Regions from separate parts of the Homo sapiens genome. Here regions 1 and 3 are each linked to region 2. The links are contacts of gene promoters, found by promoter capture Hi-C in blood cells and fetal thymus (Javierre and others, 2016). All regions are on one chromosome and are shown on one strand. Each heading gives the region's core, a stretch centred on a gene start or on the middle of the fragment in contact. The rest is flanking DNA. Distances are from core to core; before and after follow the strand shown.

Region 1 (4,894 bases), core at 2,312-4,811, 550 kb after region 2:
GGGGCAGGGACTTGGTGAGGCAACCATGGCCTGCCCCTTACCAGCTGTGTGGCCTCAGGCAAATCATCAAACCTTTTGAAGCCTGGGTTAATTCATTTGTAAACTGGAAAATAATACCTACCATTCACAGCGTTCTTTAAGAATCAAAGCACACAGGCACTGTAGTGGAGACCTTGAAAACATCCTACCTACTATAAGTGATCCATAAATACCAATGGTTGAGTTTAAAAAATTTTTAAATTATTTTATTTATTTTTTTTAGGGAAGGTCTTGCTCTGTCCCTCAGGCTAGAGTGCTGTGGTGTGATCATAGTTCACTACAGCCTCGAACTCCTGCCTCAAGCCATCCCTCCGCCTCGGCCTCACAAAGCGCTAGGATTATAGGCACAAGTCACCGTGCCGGTCCCAAAGGTTGCTATACTCATATCTCCTCAGATTTTTTTGCCTTCGAAGGACCAGAAAAGTGGTGCTCAAGTTAAAGTTAAAAAGTTGAAGTTGGCCGGGTGTGGTGGCTCACGCCTGTAATCCCAGCACTTTGGGAGGCTGAGGTGGGTAGATCTCCTGAGGTCAGGAGTTTGGGACCAACCTAGCTAACATGGTGAAACCCTGTCTCTACTAAAAATACAAAAAATAGCCAGGTGTGGTGGCACACGCCTGTAATCTCAGCTACTCAGGAGGCTGAATCAGGATAATAGCTTGAACCCGGGAGGCGGAGGTTGCAGTGGGCTGAGATAGTGCCACCGTACTCCAGCCTGGGCAACAAGAACAAAACTCCATCTCAAAACAAAACAAAACAAAACAAAAAAAGTTAGTTTCCCTTAAGTTATAGTTAAAATGTTATGCCCTTTAACACCCGTGAGTTGTGGGGCAAATGGATGAAAGGCAAGAAATTTGGGGCAGAGGAGCCTTCTTGGTACAGACTCTCATATCACATCGTGTAAATTGCAGTGACATTGCACTGTATTGGGTGACTTTCCGTACTTGAAATTTGGCTTCACAGTGGCCAGTGTCACGATGAGCTCCATGATGGTCTAGTATTCCATTTTAAGTTAACAATGTTTTCAAAGCACAGAGGTTGCTTACCACTTTATGAGTCTCACTGGAATACTGTCTGCTCATCTGCTGGAAATCACCTTCTCCCTTAGTTTATGTCCTTCTGAGTCATAGAAGGCAGGCAGACCTCAGGTGCAAAAGGCATTGATGGTAAAGGTGTGGGAGGAGGAGGGACATAAGAGACTGGAGGAGAAAGGCAAGGCGTGGGAGAGACAGTGGAGAGCTGGAAGAGGAACTTTCTTATTGTGTTTTTAGGGGAAATGTTTCATCAAAGGCTGCTGTGCCTACCACTCCTAATGGATGAGATGATTTTAGGTGGTAAACAGTTGAACATATGAAATTTCAGAACAAAAAATGAAAAAAGATGAAAATAAAATAAATTTAAAAAAGAAATAAAATGTCAGGTCATGCGTGGTGGCTCACACCTGTAATCCCAGCACTTTGGGAGGCCGAGGCAGGTGGATTGCTTGAGTTGAGGAGTTTGAGACCGGTCTGGGCAAGGCGGCAAAACCATGAGAACAGATTGGGGTTGGGTTGGGCTCAGTTTCTGACATAATCGTTCAGGATTGGAAGGCATGTGAGGCAAAGGTCCTTAGGAGTAAACTTGTCTAATAAACGAGCTCTTTGCCCAGGTAAGCAAACTGCCTGCCCAAATACATTGATTTGCAGGAATTTTCTGAAGCAAATTGCCAAGTTACATATTGGCTTACAGTCTTATTTTCCTGGGCGAGTGTTTCCTGGAAAAAAAGCTGTGTCATATTGACATTGATGGACTCAGTGCTTATAATTATTTGTTTAGTTAATGTGTGTTTGAAAATATATAACTAGGCCGGGTAAGGTGGCTCACACCTGTAATCCCAGCACTTTGGGAGGCCAAGGTGGGCAGATCACCTGAGGTCTGGAGTTCCAAGACCAGCCTGGCCAACATGGTGAAACCTCGTCTCTACCAAAAATACAAAAATTATCCATGTGTGGTGGTGCACGCCTGTAATCCCAGCTACTTGGGAGACTGAGGCACAAGAATCACTTGAACCCAGGAGGCGGAGGTTTGCACTCCAGCCTAGGCAACAGAGTGAGACTCTGTCTCAAAAAAAAAAAAAAAAAAAGGAAAGAAAGAAAGAAAAGAAAATATATAACTAGTGACATTTTGAGGTGGATGATTCAAATAAAATAAAAAACTAAACAAAAAATAAAAAAAAAAGTAAATATATAACTAGCATATCCAACCACTGATCTTGAAGGTAATATTATTTAGGGCAACACTGAAGAATATTGGGTTTAAAGTTAAAAACTAAGTGATTTAAAGAAAAATACATTAAATAACTAATAGTACGGATGATACTTATTTATCTATGACAAAAATTGTGACCACTATAAATGAAAGACTGAAATGTGAAAAGCACGGCTCAACACTGTCAGAATATCTCGGTAGGGTCTAGGCTAGAGGACAGCCCTAGCACAGGGGAAGGTGTGTAACTCATAGGTGAATCATCAGAAAGAACCAGGGGAAGAGAGTGGGGTTGCAGAGCTGGTCACCTGATCTGGGAGGGACATGAACACCCACTGGGTTTGGTGTCATTTCTGTTGTGCAAATGAACTGAGAATTAGAAAAGTCCCCCTGGCTGGAAACAGAGTTTGTAGTGGACCTACTTGGGTCTAAAGCTTTCAAATAGGAAGTAACAGTTGGGTTGGAAGATCCCATGAAAGGCGGTTGGGTTCCCCAAGAGAGGCACCTGCCATCGCGGTCACCAGGCCCCACTGAGAACAGGCCAGGTGCCAACTGAACAGCATAGTGAAGAGGGGCTGAAATTCATTTAAGGTCAAGCCAGCCTATATGGCTTGGTGAGGAATATTTTGGACAAACTGAGAAGGACAGAAGGCAAAGGCAAGGGCAGCTTCTGGTTTTCTAGGAGTCTGAGCCAAAGAAACTTCCAGGGTGGAGCTGGTATAGGGAAAAGGTAACATCCAAATCAATGCAGGCCAAGGTTAGCTTGAATCCAAGAAGAGGAACCTTTGGGACCAGACAGGGTAGGGCCTTAGGTAGAAACCCCAGCAACCAGGGCAGAATTCTGAGCAACTGCTGTTCTCAGGTGGCTGCTGAGACCAAATAAAGCTTGGTCCTGAGTCAGCGGCTGATGTAGTAAAAAGGGAGCAAGCACGGATGTGGGTTCTGAAAGTTGCTAAGAATCTCACTACCGGGAATCACCTGGGGGCCTAAACCTTAGGTAGCTTTACCAGCATTCTATTCCAGCCAAATCCTAGAGTAAAACCTAGAGAATCCTGAAAGAAGACATTCTAAAAGTAACCGTAGGCCAGGCGCCATGGCTTATGCTCATAATCCCAACACTTAGGGAGGCCGAGGCGGGAGGGTTGCTTGAGCCCAGGAGTTCAAGGCTGCAGTGAGCCAGTGAGCTTGGGAGATAGAGCGATACCTTGTCTCAAAAAAAAAAAAAAAAAAAGTAATCCTAGCCCTAGTACCTTTCCTTCAAGACAAGGACAAAATATTGTTGATATTCTGCAAATCCACGATTTCTAGTGGTTCTTGTAACAGCTGCAGTGTTACTCACTGCCTTGTTAACTCCTTGTTAGCTCCCCCGACCAGTGTTGCACGTTGCACTGTGGCTGGAGCATGGCTGCATGGTCAGACTGTTTAGGTACACATGAATGTTCCATCATTCAGTACTCAGAGCACCTCAGACAAGTCACTTACCCTCACTGAGGCTGAGATTTTTGCATTTGTACCTACTTCGTGGAGGTACTGTGAAGTGGGAGTGACAGAATTTATGTAGAATGCTCAGCACATGGTGAGCACGTCATAAATATTAGCTGTTAGCTCTTACTTTATTTATTCATTTATTTATTTTAATCTTTTTTTTCTTTCTAGCTCTCATTTTAATAAAGCTTTAAGGGGATTTTTGATTTGGGATTTTTACTTCCCCTGGACCTGGAGGAAGAGAAAGGAAGGTCAATGAGAGCGTGATGACGGTGCAGAGGCACCTAGGCAAAGCTCTGTGGCCTTTGGGAAAAGACACTACTTGGCTCAGGGCATTAAATACATGTGTGACCTTAATTCTTCTGTCAAAACAACAACAACAAAATCCCCAAACTATGAAAAGCCACAGACTTCTAGGAATAGAAGACAAAAGGAGGAAGGAGGAGGAGGAGGAAGATACCAAGGGGAAAATGATGTGAAAAGCTGATTTTGTAGCCCTGAGCATATAGGAAAAGCCTCCATGGTGATGACTTCTTTGAATAAATGTTGCTTAAAGAAAAAGAAGGCACCAGAAAGAGCAGAAAACAACTGGGTGAATGAAAGAAGAATGTCATGCAGAGGAGAGGTATGTGCAAATGCAGATATTCCATGAAAAGCTATAGCTTTTTTTTTTTTTTTTTTCTTTAGGGAGTTTCACTCTTGTTGCCCAGGCTGGAGTGCCATGGCATGATCTCAGCTCACTGCAACCTCCACCTCCCAGGTTCAAGCGATTCTCCTGTGTCAGCCTCCTGAGTAGGTAGGATTACAGGCACCCACCACCATGACTGGCTAATTTTTGTATTTTTAGTAGAGACAGGGCTTCACCATGTTAGCCAGGCTGGTCCCAAACTCCTGACCTCAGGAGATCTACCCACCTCAGCCTCCCAAAAGTGCTGGGATTATAGGCGTGTGCCACCACACCTGGCTAATTTTGTCTTTTTAGTAGAGACAGCGTTTCATCATGTTGTTCAGGCTGGTCTCGAACTCCTGACCTCAGGTGATCCACCCACCTTGGGCTCCCAAGGTGCTGGGATTACAGGCGCGAGCCACCGCCTGTATAGATTTTATGTGAGTATAATTGTAATTTTGT
Region 2 (4,986 bases), core at 1-2,500:
CAACACATTGTCCTTGGTCAAGACTACAACGTAGAAAGGAACAAGCTAATTAACTACTTAGAATTCCCTCTCCTAAGAGACCACATCGCCAAAGTGGCACCATGACACAGCTTGGTGTTTTGTTGGTCACTTTAGGAGAACACCATTTTGGAGGCCTTGGGTGGAGCTGGAGATAGAGCCATGGAGGTAGAATCGTGTCGGAAAACCTGGGTTTAGCCCCATTTTGTACTTGGGCGTTTGAGCTAATCGCTTAAGTCACGTAAAACAACAAGACTAATAAAGTCTGGGATACAGACTTTAACACCTCAAGTGCTGCCAAAAGTATTTAGAAGACAAAGCGAATCATAGGCACCCTTCACCGAGCACCTCCTAGACATCAAGAACCATGCTAGGTTCCCTACATTCTTCATTTAATGCCAATAACCCCACGAGGCAGTTATCACCTTCATTCTACAAATGGGCCCCACTCCTACCAATTAACTGGCTGAATCAGGATCTGACCCCGGGCCTGCCAACGCTCCCGCTGGTGGATTGCCCGCCTTGTCAGCTCGAGTTGGCAGGACGTGGGAGTAAAAACCCGGCGCCCCAGCCTTCACCGTGCTGCACGAGGAAGCTGGCTAGGCAGGCATGACTTTGTCAGTCAACCATCCCGCAGCCGGGCCCTGGGCTTTGTTAGCAGCCACTTGGCGAGGGCCCCGGGCGGGTGGGGAGGCGGCGCTTCCTCCAAGAGGAGGTGGGACCCCGGCCCCGACGACCTCGGAGCCGCCCCCGGCCCCGGATCGCCGACGACGTACGTGCAGGCCTGGGGATGGGGCGCTGGCTGCGAGCGGCGCGCCCGCCGAGATGGCTGCGGCTGGCAGGGCGGTGGGCGAGGCCGGTGACCCAATAAAGCGGCCGGGCCGCGGGAGGCCCCGCCCGGCCGGGTTCCGGCACTCGCCGCAGGGTCCCGGCCGGCGGCAGGTTGCGCGCCCCCGTCCGCAGCGCTCGGCGTGAGGGCGGCTCGGGAGGAGGGTGTGAGCGCGCGTCGCCGGGCCGGGACCCGGCAAGCAGCGGGAAAGGCGGGAGGCGGGAGCGCCGGTCGCCCGGGAGCCGCGCGGAGGGGCAGGCGGGGCGGGGCGGGGCGCGGCCGGGGGCCCGGGCGGCCGGGAGCCGCGCCGCCCGCGGCAGGCCCGGGCCCTCGGCCCGCCCCGCGCGCGCGCCCCCGCCAGCCCGGCCCTCCTCCTCCCCGCCGCCCCTCCCGCGCGCGTCCACCGGCTCCCCGGCTCGCGCCGCTCCATGTAGCCCCGGCTCCCCGGGCGGCCGCGGAGGAGGGGGCGACCACAAGATGGCGGGTACGTGGCCCCCTGTTCTCCGGGCGGCGGCGGCTCCTCGAGCCCACCCGCCCTCCGCCGCAGCCCTGAGTGGCTGCCGGGCCGGGGCCGGCGTGGGGTCCCGGCGCGGGAAGGCGCCCCCGGGGCGGGGGGGAGGCGGGCGGGGGGGGGGCGTCGCGCCGGGCCCCGGGGCGCTGACCGGGCCTTTCTTCTCTCCCCTCGGCGCAGACCTCTCGCTGCTTCAGGAGGACCTGCAGGAGGACGCAGACGGATGTGAGTGGCCCGGCCTCGCGGTGGCCTGGCAGTCCGCGGGGAGCGGCCGGGGAGGGCGGGCGGCGGCGAGGCCTGGGCCGGGCCCTGGCTGGCTGAGGGGACGGTGGGCGAGGGCGGCCCCAGGCGGGCTGGGGTGGCGATCGGGGGGGAAAATCTCGCGTCCGTGAGGAAACGGCGCGCCCAGGTTCCGCTGGGGGAGGGAGACGCCCGGAGTAACGCCCAAGTTCGCTTTCCGCCCTTCGCTCTCTTCTCCCGGCGCCCCCGAATCGCCTGCGGGCTCAGCAGTGGCGCGGCTGTTTTGGAAGGAGAAGCGGTGGGGCAGGATTTGAAGTGGGGTTTGGGTGTGTTTCTGCCCCTGGTGTCCCCTTCCCCCGTCACTCTAGGAAGGAAGAGGCTCGCGCGGGAGGTGTGTTTCCTTAGAGTCGCTCTTCCAGGAGCGCCCGGGGGTCAGCCTGGGCCCCGGCTAGCCGTCTGGGCTCCCCGACCCGGTTTTGGATTGTTTGAGGATGACATACCTGTCATTTTACTTTGGCTGGTAGCAGTTTTCAGATGCTCCCGATTTGATTAGTGGATTACGAGAAGGTTAGAAGGTGTGGCCTCCGCAGGAATTACTAGGTTTGGAGAGCATATTTCTTTAATGCGGATGTTCAGAAATCACCCAGCCCTCCTTCAGTGTTAACAGTGCAGCTTTCCTTTGAGGTACTGAAGTTTTTAAAGAGTTGACGCTTTTATTTTTAAAAAGACAAAGTTTCTGACATTTCCTGATGGCGACGGAATTGATATTTAGAAAGGAATTTTTCGTCTTATATGTACTTTTCTAAGCCTCAGAAAATAATTTGGGTCACGATAGAAAAGACAAAAGAGTTAAGCAGGTTTGTATTGAAAGAAGTGACAAATTGCAGTTAACTTAAAATAGTTTCTATTCTTGCTAATCTTCCAAAATAGCGACCCATCAAAAAATCAATAGGTTTTGAGATGCATTTTAAAAATGCAGAGTGTGCAAAATATATAAGCGAAGATCATGGGATACATAAGGGACCAAGAAATTGTTCTGAGTTGAGATGATAACCATAGTAGGATTGTGGTCTGTTTAGTGGAAAGCCTACCGGATGCTGAGATTGACTGTCTAGTACCTGTATAAGTAATTTCAGAGATGGCTGCAGTTTGAAATTACTCTTTTAAATACTCTGTAGTTAATCCTTAGCATTGTCTAATGTGGTTCCCTTACTCAGAGTAAACTTAATTTTTAGATTCCTGGTTGTTTTGAGTAAAGTAAGGGGGATTTACTATTTAGATGGATTATCTGAAACGAGTAATTTATCTTTAAAGTAAATGAACCACATCCAAACTTTTGCTAAGTCTGTGTTTTTAGTGAGGTGGCTCAAAACAGCTCTCTTAAAGGGAGCAGTACTCATGTAGTGAAGGGCAGCTTTAACATTTTATTTAATGTTTACCTTAAGCCACTTATCTGCCTAATAGTAAGTTTGAGATATTATTTAAGGCATCTGTTGATTTCAGATCTCTTGCCAGGTTAGGATTGGAGAAATGGCCCTGATTATGTTACCTCGAGGAGGGCTTTTTATATTTATGTTCGACTTCGTAAATAGAAGATTCATTTATTCAGCAAGTATTTATGACTGGAGCAAAAACTTCTCACTCCTGAAGGATGAAATGCAGTCTCAGTTTCTTCCTTAGCCCCCAAGAAGCACAGTGTAGAGGGGAAGGCATACCTGTGAAAAATTCAACCATGAGTTTCAACACTCTGCCAGGTACTGGGGATGGAGCTTTGAGAAAGATGGGCACAACCCATGCCCTCTAGTGGTTTACAAGCAGTTTTGAATCTAGGTGTACAGTACAGTATTACAGTTACCACTGGAGCCAGGCTGCTCTGTTTGTCTTAGCAGTGTCTTTTTGGGCAGACTTGGGCAACTCACTTAACCTCCCTATGCCTCAGTTTTGTCATTTGTAAGTAGGCATAAGAAATATTACCTACTTCATAGAGTTGTTCAAGGCTGTACATGAGTTAGTGCCTCTGAAGCACTTGGAACAATTCCTGGTAAACAGCGATGATTATGATTATGTTTGCTGTTATGAGAAAAGAGCAAGGGAAGCTTAAAAGAAGAGCAGAGAAGGAAACACTGATGTTGAACCTTACAGAATGAAGGTACTTAAAGATGCTGCCAATGCTCGCAACTAAATTTTTTTTTTTTTTGAGATGGAGTTTCACTCTTGTTGCCCAGGCTGGAGTGCAAAATGGCGCGATCTCGGCTCACCGCAACCTCTGCCTCCCGGGTTCAAGTGATTCTCCTGCCTCAGCCTCCCAAGTAACTGGGATTACAGGCGTGTGCCACCACGCCTGGCTAATTTTGTACTTTTAGTAGAGACGGGGTTTCTCCATGTTGATCAGGCTGGTCTCGAACTCCCGACCTCAGGTGATCCACCTGCCTTGGCCTCCCAAAGTGCTGGGATTACAGGCGTGAGCCACTGCGCCCGGCTGCAACTAACTTTTTAAAGATTCTGTTTCCTGTGCATTTTAATTTAGGATAAAACAGACATTGAAGGCACAATAGTTATTTGCATATTCATAATTTGGTTGAAGGCTTTGTTAGAGTAATTGCTTATTTTTCTCAGTTACTAAAGTTTTTACAGGTGATACCTTTACCCAGAATATTCAGGAACAAAGGACTTTTGGACATATGGCCAGTTGAAGGACCACTTCCCATCTCTTGTGAAGGGAGAAAGAATGAGGGGGAACACTGGGCCATGGTGCCTCCTTAGAGAGCAAGATGGTTGGTAAAGGACTGAGACAGCTGTCACATCCTGGAGAAGCTGGAGAAGGTAGAGGACCCAAAGGTAGAGGAACGGAGCTTGGGCTGCCCTTATAACACGGTTGTTATCTCGTGAGCCTGAGTTTCTCTGTCTATGGTAAAACTCCAGAGTATGGAGCCCAACCTCCAGAGTAGTTGTAAACAAGTCCTACTACTTCAGCCAAGCTAGGTGTAAGTTGGCCCTTGGGATGGGAAGAAATTGTTTTCTGGTCAAGCTCTAGAATCTTGGTTGACCTTCCTAAATGCAGAACCTGGACTATGAGGGAAGAGACAGTAAGTTCTGTTGTGCAGATGATCTAGGAAAGGACCTAGCTGGAGTCTAGGACTTGAAAGAGGGGCATTGCCAGACATTGCTAAGAGTCTCAGGTCTTTCGATTTGATTTGTTTTAATCCCGTCTCTGTACAGAGGCACAGAGTCGGGGAAAAGGTTGGTCAAAGACTGACTTGACTGATAACCTTTGGAGGAAAAAAAATCCTAATGAGGGAAAAATGGATGGTATTTGTGTGTGTGTGTGTGTGTGTGTGTGTGTACACATAATTTCATTGAAGGAGTTTCATTAGAACTTAAACTTTTA
Region 3 (4,368 bases), core at 438-2,937, 910 kb after region 2:
ACAAAAATACAAAAATAAGCTGGGCATGGTGGCATACACCTGTAGTTCCAGCTACTTGAGAGGCTGAGGCAGGAGGCTCCCTCAAGCCCAGGAGGGGAGGTTGCAGTGAGCCATGATCATGCCACTGCACTCCAGCCTGGGTGATGGGAGTGAAACCCTGTCTCAAAAAAATGGGAAGGAAGGAAGGGAGGGAAGGAGGCAGGGAGGGAGGGAGGGAAAGAAGGGAAGGGAAGGGAGGAAGGGAAGGAGGGAGCAAAGAAAGGAAATACTTGATTTTAAATTCTTTTTCTGTTAAATCAAATTAATCTAAAGGTAATAGAGGATTTACTATTTAAGGGAACCATAGAGTGCTTATTCTGTGAAATAACAAAACCCAGCATGGGCGTGCCTGTTTTCATCTGCGTGCCCTCAGATCCAGTCTTGCCCCTCTGCTACTCTGATGTGAGTGGAAGTGTGGGTTTCCAGGCCGCTGGGTTTGCTGATTGGGTTTGGCCAGTGGAGGTGCCGTCAGGAGATGGGAGTGGACCCAGAAGGAAGAAACCAGGTTATTTCTTACTCTCTCTGCTGCAGGCGGCTTCTCTGGCAGTGGCTGGGTCTCTGTGAGGAGTGGATTTCTGAGGTTCCAGCCATCACTGGATGGACTACTCCTCCTGGTAGCTTTTCGTCCTCCACTGCCTCGTATCAAGGGTGGTGGTGCCTTCCTGTGCTTGCAGATCTCCGGGTTGCTTCACTGTGGCTGATTCCCTGCATTGCAACCCTGGATTGTAAATGCTGGCACAAGGCCCAGGGCCCCATCGTCTCATTCCTCTGCAGAGGCCCAAATACTGTCCTAGGGAGCTGCGTGCAGCAGTGGTGTGATGAGTAATGTTTGTGTGGCTGTGTTCACAACCTCTTTGTCCAAGAACGGTGTGGTATGGTGACAAGACCTGAGGCTTTGACACCAGGTAAATCTGGGTTCAAATCCTGCCCAAGTCATTTGCTGTCTGTGTGGCCTTGGGTAAGGTATTGTTATCAAGTCATCATCATCATTTAACACCAGTGAAATAATCTTCAGAATCATCATCATTATTTAACACCAGTGAAATAATCTTCAAAACTCTTAAAATATGAGCAAACCAGATTTTTCACTCAGATTCCAAACTCTCACTCAGAGAGTTAGAAATCTATTCTGTGTCTATACAGTTATATAAAGAGAAATGAATTCTTTTTTTACTTGGTTTGACTCATAGACAAAAAAAAAAATGTGACTTACTCAGGACTATACTTCACTCTATACTCCCAGGCAGAATTATATGCAGAATTTCTATACCTTTAATACATTGTCCAAACCCAGGCATATGTGTATCTTCCAGTTTTTCCCCTTATTTTAACAGAAAGGCACATTTAAAATATGAAAGCATTCCTGGTTGAAGTCATGAGAAATCATGAAATCATACTCTTTGAAAAGAATGGAAAGAAGAGGGAATTTTTCAGAGTGAGTGGCTTTTTGGGCACTGCAAGAAAGTTAACCTTAAAAAGAGACAACCTAATAATGCCTGATCCCCCCGCCTCCCCACCACCCGCCAAGGTTGAAGCTGGAGTCTGCATCCAACACTGGGGTCTGTGGGGACCTCCCAGCTCTCTTTGCAAGGGTGATTGCCAAAATGCCACATGGGACCTGAAAAAGGCTTCATGTCCAGATTGGCAGCTGTGCATGGCATTGGTGGTGACAATGACAATAACTTAAGAGGCTCTTAAACCTTGAGGTCATTAAAATCTCCTGGTGAGACTGTTAAAAATGCAAATTATCTGGCCACATCCCCAGGGATCTGATTTAAGAGATATGAGCCCAGAAAGCTGTATTATTATTATTATTATTATTATTATTATTATTATTATTATTTTGAGGTGGAATCTTGTTCTGTTGCCCAGGCTAAAGTGCAGTGGAACGATCTTGGCTCACTGCAACCTCCGCCTCCTGGACTCAAGCGACTCTTCTGCCTCAGCCTCCTGAGTAGCTGAGATTACAGGTATCCGCCACCACGCCCAGCTAATTTTTTGTATTTTCAGTAGAGACAGGGTTTCGCCATGTTGGCCAGGCTGGTCTCAAACTCCTGACCTCAAATGATCCGCACGCCTCAGAGTCCCAAAGTGCTGGGATTACAGGTGTGAGCCACTACGCCCGGCCGGAAGGCTGTATTTTTAACAAATACTTTTGATGCAAGTAATTATCTTACTTCCCATTGAAAAACACTGTGTTAGTGTTTCTTTTTTCTCTCTTCCTTCTTTTTTTTTTTTTTTTTTTTTTAAAAAGACAAGGTTTTGCTTGGTCACCCAGGCTGGAGCAGAGTGTGCAATCATAGCTCACTGCAGACTCCAAATCCTGGGCTCCAGTGATCCTCCCACCTCAGCTTGCCAAGTAGCTGAGACCACAGACACATGTGTTAGTGTTTCTACACAGGTCCAAGTGTCACATGGCTTGTCATGTGCGTTCTTCCTATTTCTGTTCAAAACTCCTTCCAATACTGTGCGGGATGACCCACCTCTATGCATGTGAGATGCTGGGTGATGGATATTTGCTCACTTAAATCTGAACTAGAGAGTCCCAACCTAAGGTGTGCTCTAGAGTCTGCTGGGAGAACAGGGGAGTCTCCCTGTGACATGAGAACCAGAGGAAGTAGAGAGGTGAAGGTGTAAGGAGGCCCTTTCCCTCCTGACCAGTGGTTCTTCATGGGGGTGGAAGCACCCACAGGGAGCATTCTAGACGTATATTGGGGTGTTTTCTCTTGTCATAACAACTGGATTGGAGGGCACTACTGGCATTTAAGTGAGGGAAGGGGAATAGTCAGGGGGGCTAGATATCTTGCAGTGTGCCCAGAGAAGGGTCGTCCTAGGCGGGATGAGGTGACTCACACTTGTAATCCTAGCACTTTGCGTGGCTGAGGTGGTGGATCACTTGAGTCCAGGAGTTTGAGACCAGCCTGGCCAACATGATGAAACCCTGTCTCTACTAAAAATACAAAAATTAGCCTGTCATGGTGGCATGTGCCCGTAATTCCAGCTACTCGGGAGGCTGAGGTGGGAGAGTCGCTTGAACCGAGGAGGCAGAGGTTGCAGTGAGCTGAGATCTCGCCACTGTACTCCAGCCTGGGTGATGGAGTGAGACTCCATCTCAGAAAAAGAAAAAAAAAAAGAGTCATCTCTCCTGCTACAGGACTTCCAAGTAAGAGTCCTCTGAAACATTCACGTGGGTAAAAAAATCTGTTTATCATTATCTAAGGCTAGAAGTACATGTTTTACACATAAACACAATACTTTTACATATAAAGCAGTATTTTTTAAGTTTTTAAAATATTTTTTAAAAGTTAATATAACTATTAATTGACAAATCATAATTATCATAATTACATTGACAGAGTACACCGTGTTGTTTTGATATATGTATACTAAAGCAGTATGTTTTTAGGGTTGTTTTACCATCAACTGAATTTTTTTTTAGGAATGAAACCACAGTAGAAATCAAGACTGGGCTGGGCACAGTGGCTCACGCCTATAATCCCAGCACTTTGGGAGGCCGAGGGCAGTGGATCATTTGAGGTCAGGAGTTTGAGACCAGCCTGCCTAACATAGCGAAACCCCATCTCTACTGAAAATACAACAAATTAGCCGGATGTGGTGGCACATGCCTGTAATTCCAGCTACTCGGGAGGGTGAGGCAGGAGAATCACTTGAACCCAGGAGGTGGAGGTTGCAGTGAGCCGAGATCGCACCACTGCACTGGGTGAGAAAGGGAGAGTCTGTTTCAAAACAACACAAAGAAAATAAAAATAAAATAAAGACTGCATTTTATTTGGAGATTTTCAATGCATTTTTTATCTTTGATCATTGCATTGAGGGAGTGCCACTCAAGGGACTGGAGTCATGAATAGAACCCACCTGTATTTGTCCGTGTTTTAGCAGTTGCTTCTATGTAGAGCATCTGACTACTTCATTATATATTTTGTAGTATATATGTACCTAAGCTTTATATATTGAAATAGATATTATTTTGTTATAAGTTGGTTTCTTATTATTTCTTTTTTGTATTACCATTAGAGAAGTATATCAGTTTTTAAAAATATACGGTTAGGGGAGTGACAACCACAAGTAGTGATTCTCATTTCAAGAAATTAAATGGCTACAAAACTGGTGTCCAGAATATATAAAGAACCCTTGCAACTCAGCAATAAAAAGACAAGTAACACAATTTTAAAATGTTCAAAGGATTTGAATAGACATTTCTTCAAAGAAGATATATAAATCACCAATGAGCATATGAAAATGTACTCAACTTCATTGGTCATTAGAGAAATGCAAATAGAAGTCACACCCATTAGGATGGCTAAAATA

The links. Contacts are between HindIII fragments. The CHiCAGO score rates a contact against its expected background, and 5 or more counts as called.
Region 1: a fragment that was not itself captured here is called in contact with the fragment with the promoter of PPP4R1 in region 2 in 1 of 17 cell types (non-activated CD4 T cells); the score reaches 6.6 in non-activated CD4 T cells.
Region 3: a contact is called between a fragment that was not itself captured here and the fragment with the promoter of PPP4R1 in region 2, in 3 of 17 cell types (total CD4 T cells, activated CD4 T cells and total CD8 T cells). The highest score is 6.0, in total CD4 T cells.

What each region holds. Positions count from the first base shown.
Region 1 is chr18:9,064,834-9,069,727 of GRCh38, reverse strand. It overlaps LOC124904243 (a long non-coding RNA gene), which reads left to right and starts at 3,937. Exons shown (of 2, transcript XR_007066278.1): 1 at 3,937-4,390. RefSeq lists an enhancer at 2,857-3,076. The HindIII fragment of the contact is 788 bases long and covers 3,168-3,955 here.
Region 2 is chr18:9,610,823-9,615,808 of GRCh38, reverse strand. PPP4R1 (protein phosphatase 4 regulatory subunit 1) reads left to right here and starts at 1,250. Exons shown (of 20, transcript NM_001042388.3): 1 at 1,250-1,331; 2 at 1,539-1,583. The coding sequence starts at 1,325. PPP4R1-AS1 (PPP4R1 antisense RNA 1) reads right to left here and starts at 1,002. Exons shown (of 3, transcript NR_110773.1): 1 at 795-1,002. RefSeq lists silencers at 554-1,063, 1,164-1,433, 1,534-1,783 and an enhancer at 2,054-2,133. The HindIII fragment of the contact is 7,461 bases long and covers 1-3,696 here.
Region 3 is chr18:8,698,175-8,702,542 of GRCh38, reverse strand. The region is part of intron 1 of GACAT2 (gastric cancer associated transcript 2); the gene reads left to right. Among named protein-coding and RNA genes, the nearest start is that of MTCL1, 5.2 kb to the left of the region's middle. The HindIII fragment of the contact is 4,632 bases long and covers 1-4,003 here.